4 separate regions of the Homo sapiens genome follow, and regions 1, 2 and 3 are each linked to region 4. Evidence: promoter capture Hi-C in 16 types of primary human blood cells and fetal thymus (Javierre and others, 2016). All regions are on one chromosome and are shown on one strand. Each heading gives the region's core, a stretch centred on a gene start or on the middle of the fragment in contact. The rest is flanking DNA. Distances are from core to core; before and after follow the strand shown. Region 1 overlaps OTUD4 (OTU deubiquitinase 4). Region 2 overlaps ABCE1 (ATP binding cassette subfamily E member 1). Region 3 overlaps OTUD4 (OTU deubiquitinase 4). Region 4 holds the start of SMARCA5 (SNF2 related chromatin remodeling ATPase 5).

What was found. The method cuts DNA at HindIII sites, captures the fragments that hold promoters and counts their contacts. A CHiCAGO score of 5 or more calls a contact.
Region 1: a fragment that was not itself captured here is called in contact with the fragment with the promoter of SMARCA5 in region 4 in 5 of 17 cell types (naive CD8 T cells, monocytes, total CD4 T cells and 2 more); the score reaches 8.7 in naive CD8 T cells.
Region 2: a contact is called between a fragment that was not itself captured here and the fragment with the promoter of SMARCA5 in region 4, in 2 of 17 cell types (naive CD4 T cells and total CD4 T cells). The highest score is 6.5, in naive CD4 T cells.
Region 3: a contact is called between a fragment that was not itself captured here and the fragment with the promoter of SMARCA5 in region 4, in 4 of 17 cell types (naive CD8 T cells, total CD4 T cells, non-activated CD4 T cells and 1 more). The highest score is 17.0, in naive CD8 T cells.

Annotation. Positions count from the first base shown.
Region 1 is chr4:145,163,068-145,166,861 of GRCh38, reverse strand. It overlaps OTUD4 (OTU deubiquitinase 4), which reads left to right. Exons shown (of 21, transcript NM_001366057.1): 4 at 1,665-1,711; 5 at 2,636-2,708. Among named protein-coding and RNA genes, the nearest start is that of OTUD4, 16 kb to the left of the region's middle. The HindIII fragment of the contact is 5,397 bases long and covers 1-3,794 here.
Region 2 is chr4:145,122,770-145,126,224 of GRCh38, reverse strand. ABCE1 (ATP binding cassette subfamily E member 1) reads right to left here. Exons shown (of 18, transcript NM_002940.3): 14 at 3,094-3,204; 15 at 2,868-3,010; 16 at 2,625-2,747; 17 at 1,124-1,235. Among named protein-coding and RNA genes, the nearest start is that of ABCE1, 26 kb to the right of the region's middle. RefSeq lists an enhancer at 1-93. The HindIII fragment of the contact is 3,737 bases long and covers 1-3,287 here.
Region 3 is chr4:145,141,994-145,145,400 of GRCh38, reverse strand. OTUD4 (OTU deubiquitinase 4) reads left to right here. Exons shown (of 21, transcript NM_001366057.1): 15 at 967-1,090; 16 at 1,400-1,455; 17 at 1,956-2,036; 18 at 3,067-3,205. Among named protein-coding and RNA genes, the nearest start is that of OTUD4, 37 kb to the left of the region's middle. The HindIII fragment of the contact is 3,887 bases long and covers 186-3,407 here.
Region 4 is chr4:143,511,250-143,515,006 of GRCh38, reverse strand. It overlaps SMARCA5 (SNF2 related chromatin remodeling ATPase 5), which reads right to left and starts at 1,305. Exons shown (of 24, transcript NM_003601.4): 1 at 906-1,305. The coding sequence starts at 1,082. SMARCA5-AS1 (SMARCA5 antisense RNA 1) reads left to right here and starts at 170. Exons shown (of 2, transcript NR_104027.1): 1 at 170-562; 2 at 782-1,535. RefSeq lists enhancers at 685-804, 865-924, 1,215-1,584, 1,615-1,684, 1,715-1,804 and 1 more. The HindIII fragment of the contact is 18,533 bases long and covers 1-3,757 here.

The sequences.
Region 1 (3,794 bases), core at 60-2,559, 1.7 Mb before region 4:
TGAAACATGAATTATTTTTTATGAGACATAGTTTCGCTCTTGTCTCCCAGGCTGGAGTGCAGCAGCGCGATCTCGGCTTACTCGACTGCTGCCTCCCAGCTTCAAGTGGTTCTCCTCCCTCAGCCCCCGAGTAGCTGGGATTATAGGCATGTGCCACCAGGCCCGACTAATGTTTTGTATTTTTAGTAGAGATGGGGTTTCACTGTGTTGGTCAGGCTGGTCTTGAACTCCCAACCTCGTGATCTGCCTGTCTCGGCCTCCCAAAGTGTTGGGATTACAGGCGTGAGCCACCACATCCTGCCTGAAACATGAATTATTTTACTATTCTGTAGGAATCTTAGGGACTTTTTTTTTTTTTTAAACACTGTTACAAATAACTCCCAGTGACATCATTATTTTACATACACTTTTGTAGATGTGAAATATTTCTTTATGATAGACGTATAGAAGTTGAATTGCTGGGTCACAGGGTATATGGGACATTTTAAATTTTGAAACATACTGGCCATTTGCCTTTCAGAAAGGCTTTAAGTGACTTTTCTAAGGAGTGTAGAATTTCTCTTGTTTTCAAAACAATTGCTAGGACACTGCTCTCTTTTGTACCTTCATTTACCCTGAAGAGAAGAGATCTTCTGCCCTTTTCTATACTTCCCAATTTTCTGCTTCTATTCAATATTTCTTTCTTTCTTTTTTTTTTTTTGAGACCGAGTTTTGCTCTTGTTGCCCAGGCTGGAGTGCAATGGTGCAATCTTGGCTCACTGCAACCTCTGCTTCCTGGGTTCAAGCGATTCTCCTGCCTCAGCCTCTTGAGTAGCTAGGACTATAGGCATGGGCCACCACACCCGGCTAAGTTTGTATTTTTAGTAGAGAGGGGGTTTCTCCATGTTGGTCAGACTGGTCTCGAACTCCCGACCTCAGGTGATCCGCCCTCCTTGGCCTGCCAAAGTATTGGGATTACAGGCATGAGCCACTGCGCCCAGCCGCCTCTATTCAGTATTTCATTTCCCGAGCTTATACCATGTGCCAGGCGCTCTCCTGAGGGCTAGGCTGGAGGATAGCCCTTGCCTTCAATACGTTCTCAACTTGGGCCAGGCGCAGTGGCTCACGCTTGTAATCCCAGCACTTTGGGAGACTGAGGCGGGTGGATCACCTGAGGTCAGTAGTTGAGACCAGCCTGACCAACATAGAGAAACCCCGTCTCTACTAAAAATACAAAATTAGCTGGGCATGGTGGCACATGCCTGTAATCCCAGCTACTTGGGAGGCTGAGGCGGGAGAATCGCTTGAACCTCGGAGGCAGAGGTTGCGGTGAGCCGAGATCACGCCGCTGCACTCCAGCCTGAGCAACAAGAGCGAAACTCCATCTCAAAAAAAAAAAAGTCTCAACTTAACAGATGCCATGCTGTGGTCTTGCCACACCAATAGGAACTGTCATTTCACCCTGTTAGTATTTTTTTGTGTATGTGTGGGAGAGACTTGGACTGCATTTTACCACATATTGTGGTCTGTTTTATATAAACGTTTTTATAATATTCACAATACTACTAATAATAATGAGCTTTAAGAACTCATTACGTATGCTGTATGAAGGTATGTATAGAAATATAAAGTGGAATCTAAAAAGTGTGAGACACTTACATGCCACCTTTTTTTCTTCAATACAGGAATGGGTAGGACAAGTGGAAATAAGTGCCCTTTCTCTTATGTACAGGTAAACACTGTAATAACATAAGTAAAAGAAAATGAAACCAGTGGGAAATTATATTCCATTATATTAAAAATGTTAAAATAGCAAAGCTCTTTTATACTTTAGTTATGAAGTATCTTTTCTAAGTTTTTTTTAATTGCATCAATTAGATTTTGACATTTAGATATGTCAGTGTTTAGAAATTTTAATTCTCAAAATACTTTGGAAAAGGGTACAGAAATTTTTCCGGTCTATGTTCTGTAAGATATCACTTATCAACTTTGTAGAGAAATGATTTTCTACTTTCTCAGGGTCAGTGGTATTGAATGGCCACTAGAACCGTACTAAAATACCATGTTACAAATTGGGTATTCCTTATCTGAAATGATTGAGTCCAGAAGTTTTTGGATTTCATTTTTTTTTTAAATTTTGGAATATTTACATTATGCTTACCCAGTTGAGCATCCCTAATTTGAAAATCTGAAATCCAAAATGCTCCAATGAGCATTTCCTTTGAGTGTCATGTTGGTGCTCAAAAAGTTTTAGATTTTGGAACATTTGGGATTTTGGCTTTTTAGATTTGGGATGCTCAACCTGTATTCAATTTTGCTACTTTTGCCTAGTAGAGGAGCAGGTAAATACTTTGTTTTTTCTTTTCAGAATGTTGTTTAAATTTCATCTTCAAAATTTCTTTGATTTTTGAAGTGTCCCTTTAGAATTATATCTGAAATTTAATATATATACAAATAATATTTGAAATTTTACATGTTAAAAAGGTTACTTTTATATAGATATTTTACAACTTAGTTATCTCATTATTGTCTTTTGTATCTCCAGTGGTTGGGACAGTGCCTGGCACGTATTAGGCCCTTGATGAATGAATGAATGATTAAATTCAAATTCATGAAGTATAGTCCATTATAAATAATTTCTAATTGTTATTTTCAGGAAAGATTTTATAATTTATCGGGAACCAAATGTTTCTCCTTCACAAGTAACAGAAAATAATTTTCCTGAAAAGGTAAGAATTTTTCAAAGTGTTCTAAAGTATTTAAGTAAAAGAACCGCTTAGTTGCTACCATGACCTCATAAGCTATAATTTTAAATGATTTTTTGAAATATTTCTGTATTAAGGTTATGGTATTCTGATTTCTTAAAAGTTCCTATAGCCGGGTGCGGTGGCTCATGCCTGTAATCCCAGCACTTTGGGAGGCCAAGGCAGGCAGATCACTTGAGGTCAGGAATTTGAGACCAGCCTGACCAACATGGAGAAACCCTGTCTCTACTGAAAAAATACAAAATTAGCCGGGCGTGGTGGCACATCCCTGTAATCCCAGCTACTAGGGAGGCTGAGGCAGGAGAATCGCTTGAACCTGGGAGGTGGAGGTTGCAGTGAGCCGAGATCACACCATTGCACTTCAGCCCGGGGATCAAGAGTGAACCTCCGTCTTAAAAAAAAAAAAAAAAAAAAGGTTCCTATTAATTGTCACTTAGTCATATTATTTTGTATTTTTTTTGCTCCCACAAGTTACTGTATTTAACCCTTTTATAACATTTTAGTAGAAACACTGAATTATGAGACATTAATACATATGATGAACTAGACTATTATAGTTTTTTATCAATATAAACATTAGTAAAAAAAAATAACTTGTGAAAATAGGTTCTGCCATTACATCCAGGAATACTTTAGTAATCATAAATATTTCCCTAGTGTAAATTTTACTCACAAGGGTGTCGTTGCATTATCTGTCATAAAGCAGAAGCAACTGAAAAATTTTGTGAAGCCTAGAAAGAAAGATCAACTGACTTATTATAAGAGAATTTTTGTCTTAAGTAGCTATTTTGGAGTCATGATGGCCAAATTGAAGTGACTTGTGTTCCACCATGCTGGTGGTGTTAAGTTAGAGGGGAATTGAGTGAAATACTACTGTTATAAGGGTTTTGGGGTTTCTGGGACTTTCTAAGGGATCTGGCTTTTTCAAAACAAGTTTTGAAATATATTGTTATATTCTAAACAAAATCAATGTGCATTTTTCTTTGTATAAGTGATGATTTAGAAAATCACTTATACAAAGAAATTTAACTTTGATTTTGCTTGTTAGAA
Region 2 (3,455 bases), core at 170-2,669, 1.6 Mb before region 4:
ATTTTTGCCTTTTAAGAAACAAATACTGTATTTCACAGAGGAAATCAACTGTAGGGTGCACAACTGTGAACTACAAAGACAAAAAACATTGTCAATTAAGTAGACACAATGTTTTCCTCATCACAGGAGCTTGTTTAGACTTTCAAAATATACTTTTTTTGCGGGGGTTGCGGGGGCGGGGGCAGGGACAGAGACTCGCTCTGTTGCCCAGGCTGGAGTACAGTGGAACGATCTCAGCTCACTGCAACCTCCACCTCCTGGGTTGAAGTGATTCTCCTGCCTCAGCCTCCCGAGTAGCTGGGATTACAGGCGCATGCCACCACGCCTGGCTAATTTTTTGTATTTTTAGTAGAGATGGGTTTTCACCGTTAGACAGGATGGTCTCGATCTCCTTGGCTTCCCAAAGTTCTGGGATTACAGGCATAAACCACTGCGCTTGGCCTAAAATACACCTTTTAATCATGTATTGAAAAATATAACAGAAATTGGTTAAGGTATTCTTAAAAAATTCTTTGTTACAATGGTGAATTAGTGTAATCTTTCCCCAGACATTTTAAGTGGTAATCAATATAGGTAGTACAACTGTGATACAACTTAAAGAGAAAACAGGAAGAGCTCTTGAGTTCACACAGCAATGACAGCTACATTACAATTGCTGCCTACCGCACACTAAAGTATGCCATCAGGTCTTAAAATGTAAAAAACATAGGAATTTTAAAATAAAATATGGTTGTTTTTTAATTTATTTTTATTTTTTTAGACAGAGTCTCACTCTTTTGCCCAGGCTGGAGTACAGTGGGATGATCTCAGCTCACTACAACCTCCACCTTCCAGGTTCAAGTGATTCTCCTGCCTCAGACTCCTAAGTAGCTGGGATTACAGATACCTGCCACCAGACTCGGCTAATTTTTGCATTTTTAGTAGAGATGGGGTTGCACCATGTTGGCCAGGCTGGTCTCAAACTCGTGACCTCAAGTGATCTGCCTGCCTTGGCCTCCCAAAAGTGCTTGAATCACAGGTGTGAGCCACTGTGCCCAGCCATATGTTATTGATTTTTAAATAGCCTTTCAAGTGTTTATACTGAGATCAGTAATCCATGATTTAAGACAACTTTTCTACATACCTTAATTGAATTAAGTTTGTTTATTCGTGGCCTATAGTTGTTTGGATCTCTTCTGAATGTAATTTCAAGCTGAGACAAAAATTTATTCATGCCAGCCAAAAGGGTTTGAGGACTAAGAGAAAAAAAAAAATCAATTTTGATTAAATTTTACTTCAGAAATGTAACTACCTTTTGAGAGGAAGGGTATTAAGAATTACTATTACCTCAAATTCCCCAATCATAAATCATCTGGATAACAGTATAATAACAGCATATTACAAATCCTGTGTTCAGAAATAGCTTTGCTTGGACTATATAGTTTTCTTGGCTGTAATATTTTTGTGCAAAACAAAAAAAAAATTTAACCTGGATTTCTAATCTGGTGAAAGAAACATTTAAGATAGAAGTACTACTTTAGAAAAACAGAAGATAATTAATAAGTAGATTACAGAATCTCCAATTGCACATTTTTAGGGGGGATGAGAATCTTAAAAAGTTATATTTATATGAAAAATTTGTTACTGGAGGGAATATGTCCTCCTAATAGTGGTTTTCAGTGACAATTCCTTTCTAAATTTCTATGCTTAATCGTTTTTACCCAAGTGAGTTCTTAAATCATGCCAAATCACAACATACATGTGAAACATTTTAAAATTTTGTAAATAGAAAGGTGGGATATCACTAGATGAACAAATAAACATCACATATGCTAAGAAATTTCCCTAGCTCTTTAAGAAATATGTAATTCTCAATTTATAAAAAAAAAAAAGGAATTCAGGGAAGAAGCCCAGCAAAATACTTTTATTTCTTAGATGAATTATTAAAATGGCAACTCCATTCCTTGCTCTCCAATACCAGAAAACATGCTGAAACCACATGAAACTGCTGGTTTTATAGGTGAAAACTGAACACCAGTAATTTCATTTAGTTCAATCTAATAATATAGGCTTTAGCACTAAAGGTAAAATGAATTTCTCATAACTTGATCTGAATGTTAGGCTTCTCTATATTGCAAGTGCTCTTAATCAGGCTAACAAGGAAAAATGAGAAGAAAAAACGAAAAAAGTAAAACCATTTATTTTAACTCTGCTATAGATTAATACCAGATATTTGGGATCCACTGTGAGCTCAATCACTGTCAGCATAAGTTGGACAAATCATGTAACCTCTTTAATCTTGTTTTCTTTTTCTATCATGTATGAAAGCAATAGTTTTCAATCTTTTTTGGGAAATTCAAATAATAAAGCAAACAAAAGTTAAGCTGAGAAAAGGTGAGGGGCCCACAGCTTTTTATGCTGTGGCCTACAGCTTTTTATCTTCCTGGTGAGGGATTCCACACTGAAGCCTAAACACTACTCTTCCACATGGTCCCATCCAGTCCCCAATACCAATGATCTCAGGAGTCACAGAATCAAGTCTAGAATTTCTAGCTTTCATTTTTTAAAAATTAAAGTGAGTGACTTTACTATTTACTGGAAAATTTAAAATGAATTACTTTGAACATATTAAAAAGTAATTTTACCTGTTTGCAACTGTGTTCTTAGATGGAACACCATCAAAAACGATGACGCGATCCGCTAGATAGGTGGCCATGATGAAGTCATGTTCCACAACAAAGGCTGTCTTTTTTGCATGGAGTATGAAACTAAAACACAATGATTTTGAAATCTTATAGCTTTCTATCATAAAACATTCGACTGTTATATTAAGCACACTTGTAGGACAGTATACATAATCAAAATATGGCTAGGAGCAAGATATTTACCGTTTGACAACTCGAGCTGCCATCAGTCTTTGCTCAGAATCCAAATATGCAGATGGTTCATCAATTAAATAGACATCAGCAGGTTTGCCCAAGCAAAGGGCTAAAGCTACTCGCTGTAGTTCACCACCAGATAATGTCTGCACCTAATTGGAGGAGTTTAGCAAACCATGTAAAGGCATCCAAAATTCAAAATAATAAAAAAATAAAAAAAATTATGTTAAAGTACCTCTTGATCAATGATGTTTTCAATTTGCAGAGGCTTCATTACATCGGTCACAAATTGTGGGTGAGTATAAGCATCTCTTATCTTTTCATGTAGTAACTGGCGAACACTTCCCTGTTTTTAATATAAAAAAGTATTTAAATGATAAACTTTCACTATAGAACTCTTCTATTTATGAATCTTGACAAAGTTAAGCTTCAGAATAAAAGTATATCAATTTGCCACCAACAGATATCAATGTGTATCCACCATCTATGACATGTTTTGAGATTTTCTATTCAAAACCCATCATGTCCAACAAGTAAAAAGGAATTTTTTTTTTTCTTTTGAGACAGGGTCTTGCTCCATTGCCCAGGTGTGCAATG
Region 3 (3,407 bases), core at 880-3,379, 1.6 Mb before region 4:
GGAATAGCAGTTTAATCTGGCACAGGCATTGGAGTTTAGGAATTATTGGAAGAAGTGCCGAATCCATTTAGGAATAATTGAAGTGCCCAAATCCGTACATAAATAAGCATTGTTTATGTGCAAAGTACATTTATCTCTCATGTCATGTGTTATTATATAAATAACAACTACAAATTGTTTAAGCTTGTATTCATACCATTATGCATTTTTCAGTTAGTGAATTGTAAATGTACAACTACTGTAATGTGGGTACAGATGGTGAAATTTCTTTCTTATTAAGAATGGGGTCCTTCATACTCATCATTTTAGACTAAGGAGTTTGATACTGATTGCTTTTGATAGTGGCTCAGATTTGTTTTCTAGAAAACTGTTAGAGAGGGCTGAGATCCTCCTCTTAGCTGTGTGGAACATTTATTTAGAATGCCAAAACAGGAACCTAGAACCCTCAGTGATAATTTAGCTTAAAAACCTCACTTATTTCAGTCCCTTATCTCATGCAGAGTTTAAGTGATTTGCTGACAGTAAGCATTTCAGTGATAAGAATCCTAGTGCACTGTATTTGCTAATTTGCACTTAGGTTCTCCCCAACTCCCCACCAAAAAATATGGCGCTACAATGATTTTTTTGGAAGGTTGGCACAGAAGATGTTGTTTTTTTTGAAAGAAAAATTGTAGGGTAAAGGTTTGTTCAGGGTGGCTTCCTGAAATAGGGATATGAAGATTAAGTCTACTAATCTAAGTTGAAATCTGATTGCTTAATCCTTTCAACTTAGCGATAAGACTATTATTCTAGGGTGTATAATTAATTATGGACCCTAGATTCTATCTTCTTTAGTTTCAGTTAAAAATACAGGGCTGTGAATTTTAAGATTTTAGAAGTATGAAGAGTGAGATTAATTACAGAATTTGTTCATGTATCTGTGGGTAAATCTTTAACACAAAATGTTGGGTTTTGTTCATTTTAAAGAGCTCATCAGTCAATCAGTCAGCTTCTCAGAGTAGCAATCCATGTGTCCAGAGAAAATCATCACATGTAGGTGATAGAAAAGGAAGCAGGCGGAGAATGGATACAGAAGAACGAAAAGACAAAGGTAAGTTATCTCATCATTAGAAAGCAGATGCTAGAGATCTCTTTAGATGACTGGCTTAATGTCATATATTTGGGAAAGAACCCTTTTTAAGTTGTTAAGTAGTTTATCTAATGTCACATATTTTGAATGTTGCAGAGAAGTATTGACTCAAGCTAAAGGATGTTAAGTGCTATTCTAAAAACTACATTTTCACTGACTAAACATGGTTCAAATAATACTTTTGGCTTCTTCTATCTTCGTATTTTGTTCTTCTGTGTTCAGACATGACTGGTGGCTTATGCTGTCTTTTTTAATCTTGATCTGCTATAGACTCTATTCATGGACATAGTCAGTTGGATAAAAGACCCGAACCAAGCACATTGGAGGTAAAAGTTTTAAACACTACTTGCATCTTTTCTTTTTCCTTAATACTGTGTAGTACAGTAGGAAGAAGTGGAAGAAGGTGAAAATAATTTCGAAATTTTATAGCTGTGTATTAGGAAAGTAGAAAAGCAGGGAAAAGATGATGGGGATTGAGAAGTCACTCACAAATTATGACAGTTTCTTCAAGGTACATTAGGGTGCCCTGCCTGAATTGTTAGAAAGTAGCCTTTATTCTCTGTCCCTCTAGAGTGATGTTTTTAAAGGAGAAGAGTATAATGTTTGAAGCCTTGCCTCCAGTGAAAACTGCCCAGTAGTTTGATGTAATAAAGATGTTCAGGCAAAGTTAGCCTACCTGTTGAAAATAACATATAATTGGAAAAAATACTCAGTGGTGAGAGGGTTCTGTCAGATACAGGTAGGGTGAATTATAAAAGGAAACCATCAATATTCCAGAATGTGGGTCTCTGAAATACAAAACTTTGCTTCTTTTTTGCTTCCAAAGAATATTACTGATGATAAATATGCAACAGTTTCATCACCATCAAAGTCAAAGAAGTTAGAGTGCCCTTCTCCTGCGGAACAAGTAAGTATATTGTTGCATTTAACATTGAATGCTCCACTCTCTGGGTTTCTGTGCTCTGTGTATAGGGTCATTTAAAAACAGAAAACATCAGTATGGGAAATGGGAGAATTTTTTCTGGCATCACAGTTTGGCTGTGGTTATGATTTTTAAATGTATTCTGATGTTAGTCTAGAATGTTCTCTATTTATGGAATGTTATAGAAATAACCACCATTTTCTGGTGATTGAGACCATTTTTTTGAATTGACTTTGAATATATTTATATTTGTTATCGTTATATTTGATACTTTGTATTACTTTGGTAGATTTCCTTGAAAATTAGATTTTTGAAGGGAAACTGAATTTCTACTTTATTTCAAAATTTAAAAGAGTTATCTGCATCAGTTATTTCACAGATGGGAGGGAATGTACTGATTGAAAAGGTTTGAAAAATATACATTAAAAAAATACCAATTTACAAATTTCATGATGAACCTGTGTTCTAGCAGACATTTTAGTTCTTGACTAATACAAGAGTAGAGAAAGTTAAATGTTAAATGCCTTTCAACCAACATTCTTCATATTGGTAAGAAAGCATATAGTTACATGAGGAGTTTTTCTAAATAATCATGAATTTCAAGATTTCAATGATTTTGCTCACTTGCCTTAAAAGTATTGTGTTGTATTTAACTCTGCTAGTGGATAGGTGCGGTGGCTCACGCCTGTAATTCCAGCACCTTGGGATGCCAAGGCGGGCAGATCGCTTGAGCCCAAGAGTTTTGAGACTAGCCTGGGCAACAGGGTGAAACCCTGTCTGTATTAAAAAATACAGTCCTTGTTGGTAGGCAACCCTTGGTTAGGATCAAATTTGTTTGCATATTATCTTTAGCTACTGTGTGTTTTTCTTACATTTCTAAGACTATAAGGGCTATTTGTACTTCATTTGTATAAAAGGCAGGCAACTCAATATGTATCTGGTGGTTAGAAATAGTGTTAAAGCAAAATGACCTCTTGTCTTTTTCTGTCTTCCCCCACTCACCCCTTTCTTGAAGAAGCCAGCAGAACATGTGTCTTTGTCAAATCCAGCTCCCCTTCTAGTTTCTCCAGAGGTACATCTAACTCCTGCGGTGCCTTCTTTACCAGCCACTGTGCCAGCCTGGCCAAGTGAACCTACAACTTTTGGACCAACAGGTTAGAGAAGGGTTTAGAAAATCTAGCCAGCCAAAATACCTTTCTAGTCAGAGACTTCAAATTCTTGAGTGGAAGTTTGACCTCTGAGCAGGATTAGGTGTGTGGAGCCTCACAGAGCTTTCTGTGATACTCTGCTTTGCTCTGCTTCCAATGTGGAAAGACCATGTACATTTGGTGTTGTATTCATCTGACATATGCCCTC
Region 4 (3,757 bases), core at 56-2,555:
GCAAAGCCTGGAAGCATATCCAATTTACCCGCCTGGCAGCTTCCCCCATCTTTCCAGCCCCCTCAGTACTGTCAGCATCCCCTGCCCAACCCAAACCCATAAGTCTCGGCAGCGAGTGGTACTAATTTTTTTTTTTCTTAAGGCCAGAGGCCAAAAAGAGAAAAGTGCCGGACTGAGAGCCAACCAACTGCGCCTGGTTCTCTAATTCATTCCTACACTTATTCATCCCCCCTAAATTAGACGGGGGATCCGAGACAGCTGCTGCTGCCTTGGTTGCTTCCCTTCCAGTGGAATAGTGCCTGGGAGGGGCCTTCTCTCCCTTCACAGAAGCAGCTGCGCCCCGCTTATCCCCACTGCGCACTCGGCCATCCAGCTCTCGCCATTGTTTCTGCCCACAACAGATACCGCCCCTGCAAGGACCGGGAAGAAGAAAAGGAGGCCCAAGTCCTCGGACGCGCTGCTTTTAAATGCCTCCTTCACCCCGCCCGTGCATCCCGCTCCTAAGGGGTCATCTCCTCGCCCTTCCCCGAAGTTTGGTGGAAACTAAAAACCACATTCAGAGGTAGGAGAGGGAATTATGGGAGTCTAGTGGGAAAAAAACGATGGGTCCCCCGGGCCACGGTAACCAAGAACATCTGTTCACTGAGAGCGTTCAAATATTTGTCAGGATTCACGAAAGAGACAAATAATTTAAATGTGAGGAGCCAGAAATCCATTTTGCTTAGCTCGAATAGGGTAAGAACAAGGGAGCAAGAGTGAGAGCATCATTTCGTATCCACAGGGTGTGAAGCTGAGTCTGGTGCAGAGAGAGAAACCCGGCTCTGCGTCCGATCGCCACGATCCGGCGAGGGAGCCAGCTCCTCCTCCCCGCTGCACCCGCTCCCCATGCCGCAAGTCGCCCTCACCTCCATCTCGGCGTCTGCGGGACCAGCGCTGGCCGCAGACGCAACCGCCTGCGCCGCGACGCCTTCGGGGCCGCCTTTGTTGCTGCTGTTGCTCCCGCCGCTGGCGATCGAGGCTGCGGGCTTGGAAGGCGCGCTCTCGGGAGGCGGGGGTGGCGGAGGCTCGGCCGCGGACGACATGATGTTCCGTCTGCGTCACCCGCTGCTGCCAGAGGCCCGAGTCCGGCGGGGATGGACGGGGAGGCCTAGGCCTGGATGCTACGTCGCAATAAACTGGTGGAGGAGCGAGACTCCCACCCGAGCGCTCCCCTGCGCCGCGCCTCCGCGACGGGCCTGAGCCGGGCCCAGGAGCTGCACACTCCCAAACGTTCTGCTCTTCCGCGGGGCTCTAGGTTCCACCGGCGCTTACCTCACGGCGGGAATCACGTCGACGAGGGTGGGCGGGGCCAGACGGGTCACTGAGGTCAAGGAAGGCCGGCTGATTTAGAGAAGGGCGGAGGGTTGGGGGAAGGGAAAAGGAAAACGAAAGAGAGACTGAGGCTGGGAAAACGCTTCGCCGCCTCCTCCTCTTCCTCTGGAAGATAACATCTATCTCGCCAGCATCCAGGACGACGACCTACGCCACCGACTTTCAACACTCGCGAGATTCCTTATTGGCTCACTGACTGGGTCCTGAGCGCGCATGCGCATACTGCCCTCCTCACCCTTGGCCCGCCCTCTTCCAGATCTCTAGCCGGCTCGGGAGAGAAGAGTGGGCGGGACCTCCAGGGAGCGCTCGGAGGTGTAGGTTTGTGCGCCTGCTGCTTGGCAGGACGCGAGCTCAGTGTTTTAGGCTTTCGTAACGGCTCACGGTTCTCGCTGTGTCTTCTGTGCCTGACAGGGGTTGGCGGCACTACCGGAAAACTTGTCTGGGTTTTGCGCTGCCCATTCAAACTTGGAAGTCTTGTGTCTGGCCCCAAAACTTCTGCCGTATCCGCTTAGAGGCGTGACGCCACAGCCTTGACGACGTTATGGTTACCCCAAGTGAAGTCTCACGGTTTTTTGTTGTTAGAAAAAAAAAAAAAGTCCGTTAGTGTGATTTTTTTCTTTTTTCTTTTTTTTTTTTTTTGCCTTCTCATGTTAGCTGCGTCGGTTATTTCTAAATACCCTCCTTAGGCACAGAGTTAAATGATATTTCTTCTGAATTTATATGCCAAAGTTAAGCAAATAACGTGCACACTACCATGGAAGTGAGAAACACGAATAATCAATATATGGGGAAGATAGGTGGTGCGATGTAATCTTTTCCCCAAGCATCAAACATGAAAATTAAAACGTACATTCTCCTTAAGTGTTAACAAATATTCAGCACTGATTTTGTATACTGCCTTAGGCAGCCTTCAATGCAGCTTAAGGGCCTTGTGCATTCATCGCCTACAAAATTTAAATACATTGTAGTCTGTTTGATAACGAATCTGCATACTACAGTAGATTACCTGCCCAGTACAGGGTCTTTTTTATCTTTTTTTATTCCTCATATTCAGTATTCTCTAAATGTTTGTTGAGTAAAGGAGACACATTTTTCGAGAGTTGAGGTTTGAGCTAACTGGTTATGTTGAATTCCAAACAGAAGGGATCCCCTTTGAATATATAGCCTGCAAATTTTTTAACTAATGGAATGATAATTCTTAAATGGACATCTGGAAAAATGTCCCCACTCCACTAGAAATGCTAGTTCTTAGACTATAAGGAAATGTCTAAGGATATATGCAAAGATGAATACCTACAATGATGTTCATCATAGTCTTCATATATGACTGCAAAAAGCTAACAACAGTAGGCTGAATCCAGTATTAAAAGTTAGGTGTTTAAAACTGTCATACACCCAGAAAATGAACTATTAACCTTTAACAACCATTAATGTAGAATAATGGTTGTTTTGTGTTGTTTTGTTTTCAGACAGTTTCTGTCGCCCAGGCTGCAGTGCGGTGGCATGATCTCAGCTCACTGCAATCTCCAACTCCCAGGTTCAAAGGATTCTCATGACTTAGCCTCCGGAGTAGCTGGAATTACAGGCGTGCACCACCACGCCTGGCTAATTTTTGTATTTTCAGTAGAGACAGGGTTTTGCTGTTTTGGCCAGGCTAGTCTCAAACTCCTGGTCTCAAGTGATCTGCTCGCCTAGGCCTCCTAAAGTGCTGGGGTTACAGGCGTGAGCCACCGCACCTAGCCAAAGAATGTTAATTTATAAAGTGTTAACTGAAAAATTTGGTTTAACAGTTCAAAAATGTAGATAAAAGTTGGAAGCATATTTACAAAAGTATTGAAACTGATCGTTGCTGGTTTTTTGTTTTTGTTTGTTTGTTTGTTTGTTTTTTGACAGTGGCTTGCCCTGTCTCCTAGGCTGCAGTGCAGTGTCACAGTCGTGACTCACTGCAGCCTCAGCCTCCTGGGGTCCAGCAATTCTCCCACCTCAGCCTCCCAAGTAGCTGGGACTACAGGTGCATGCCACCAAGCCCAGCTAATTTTTGTATTTTTTGGGTGTAGACAGGGATCGCCATGTTGCCCATACTGGTCCTGAACAACAATTAGGGCTCAAGCCATCTACCTGCCTCAGTCTCTTAAAGTGATGGGATTACAGGTGACAGCCACTGTGCCAGGCTGCCGAATTTGCCTATTATTGTATTAAGAAAACTTTTTTTAAAAAAATTTCAGCTTTACTGAGGTATAATTCACAAAATTGTATATATTTAAGGCATACAATGTGATGTTTTGATATATAAACACGTTGTGAAATGATTACCGCAATCAAGCTAATAAGCATATACATCACCTCTTATATTTACTGCCTGCCAGCATGGTGAGAACATTTAAGA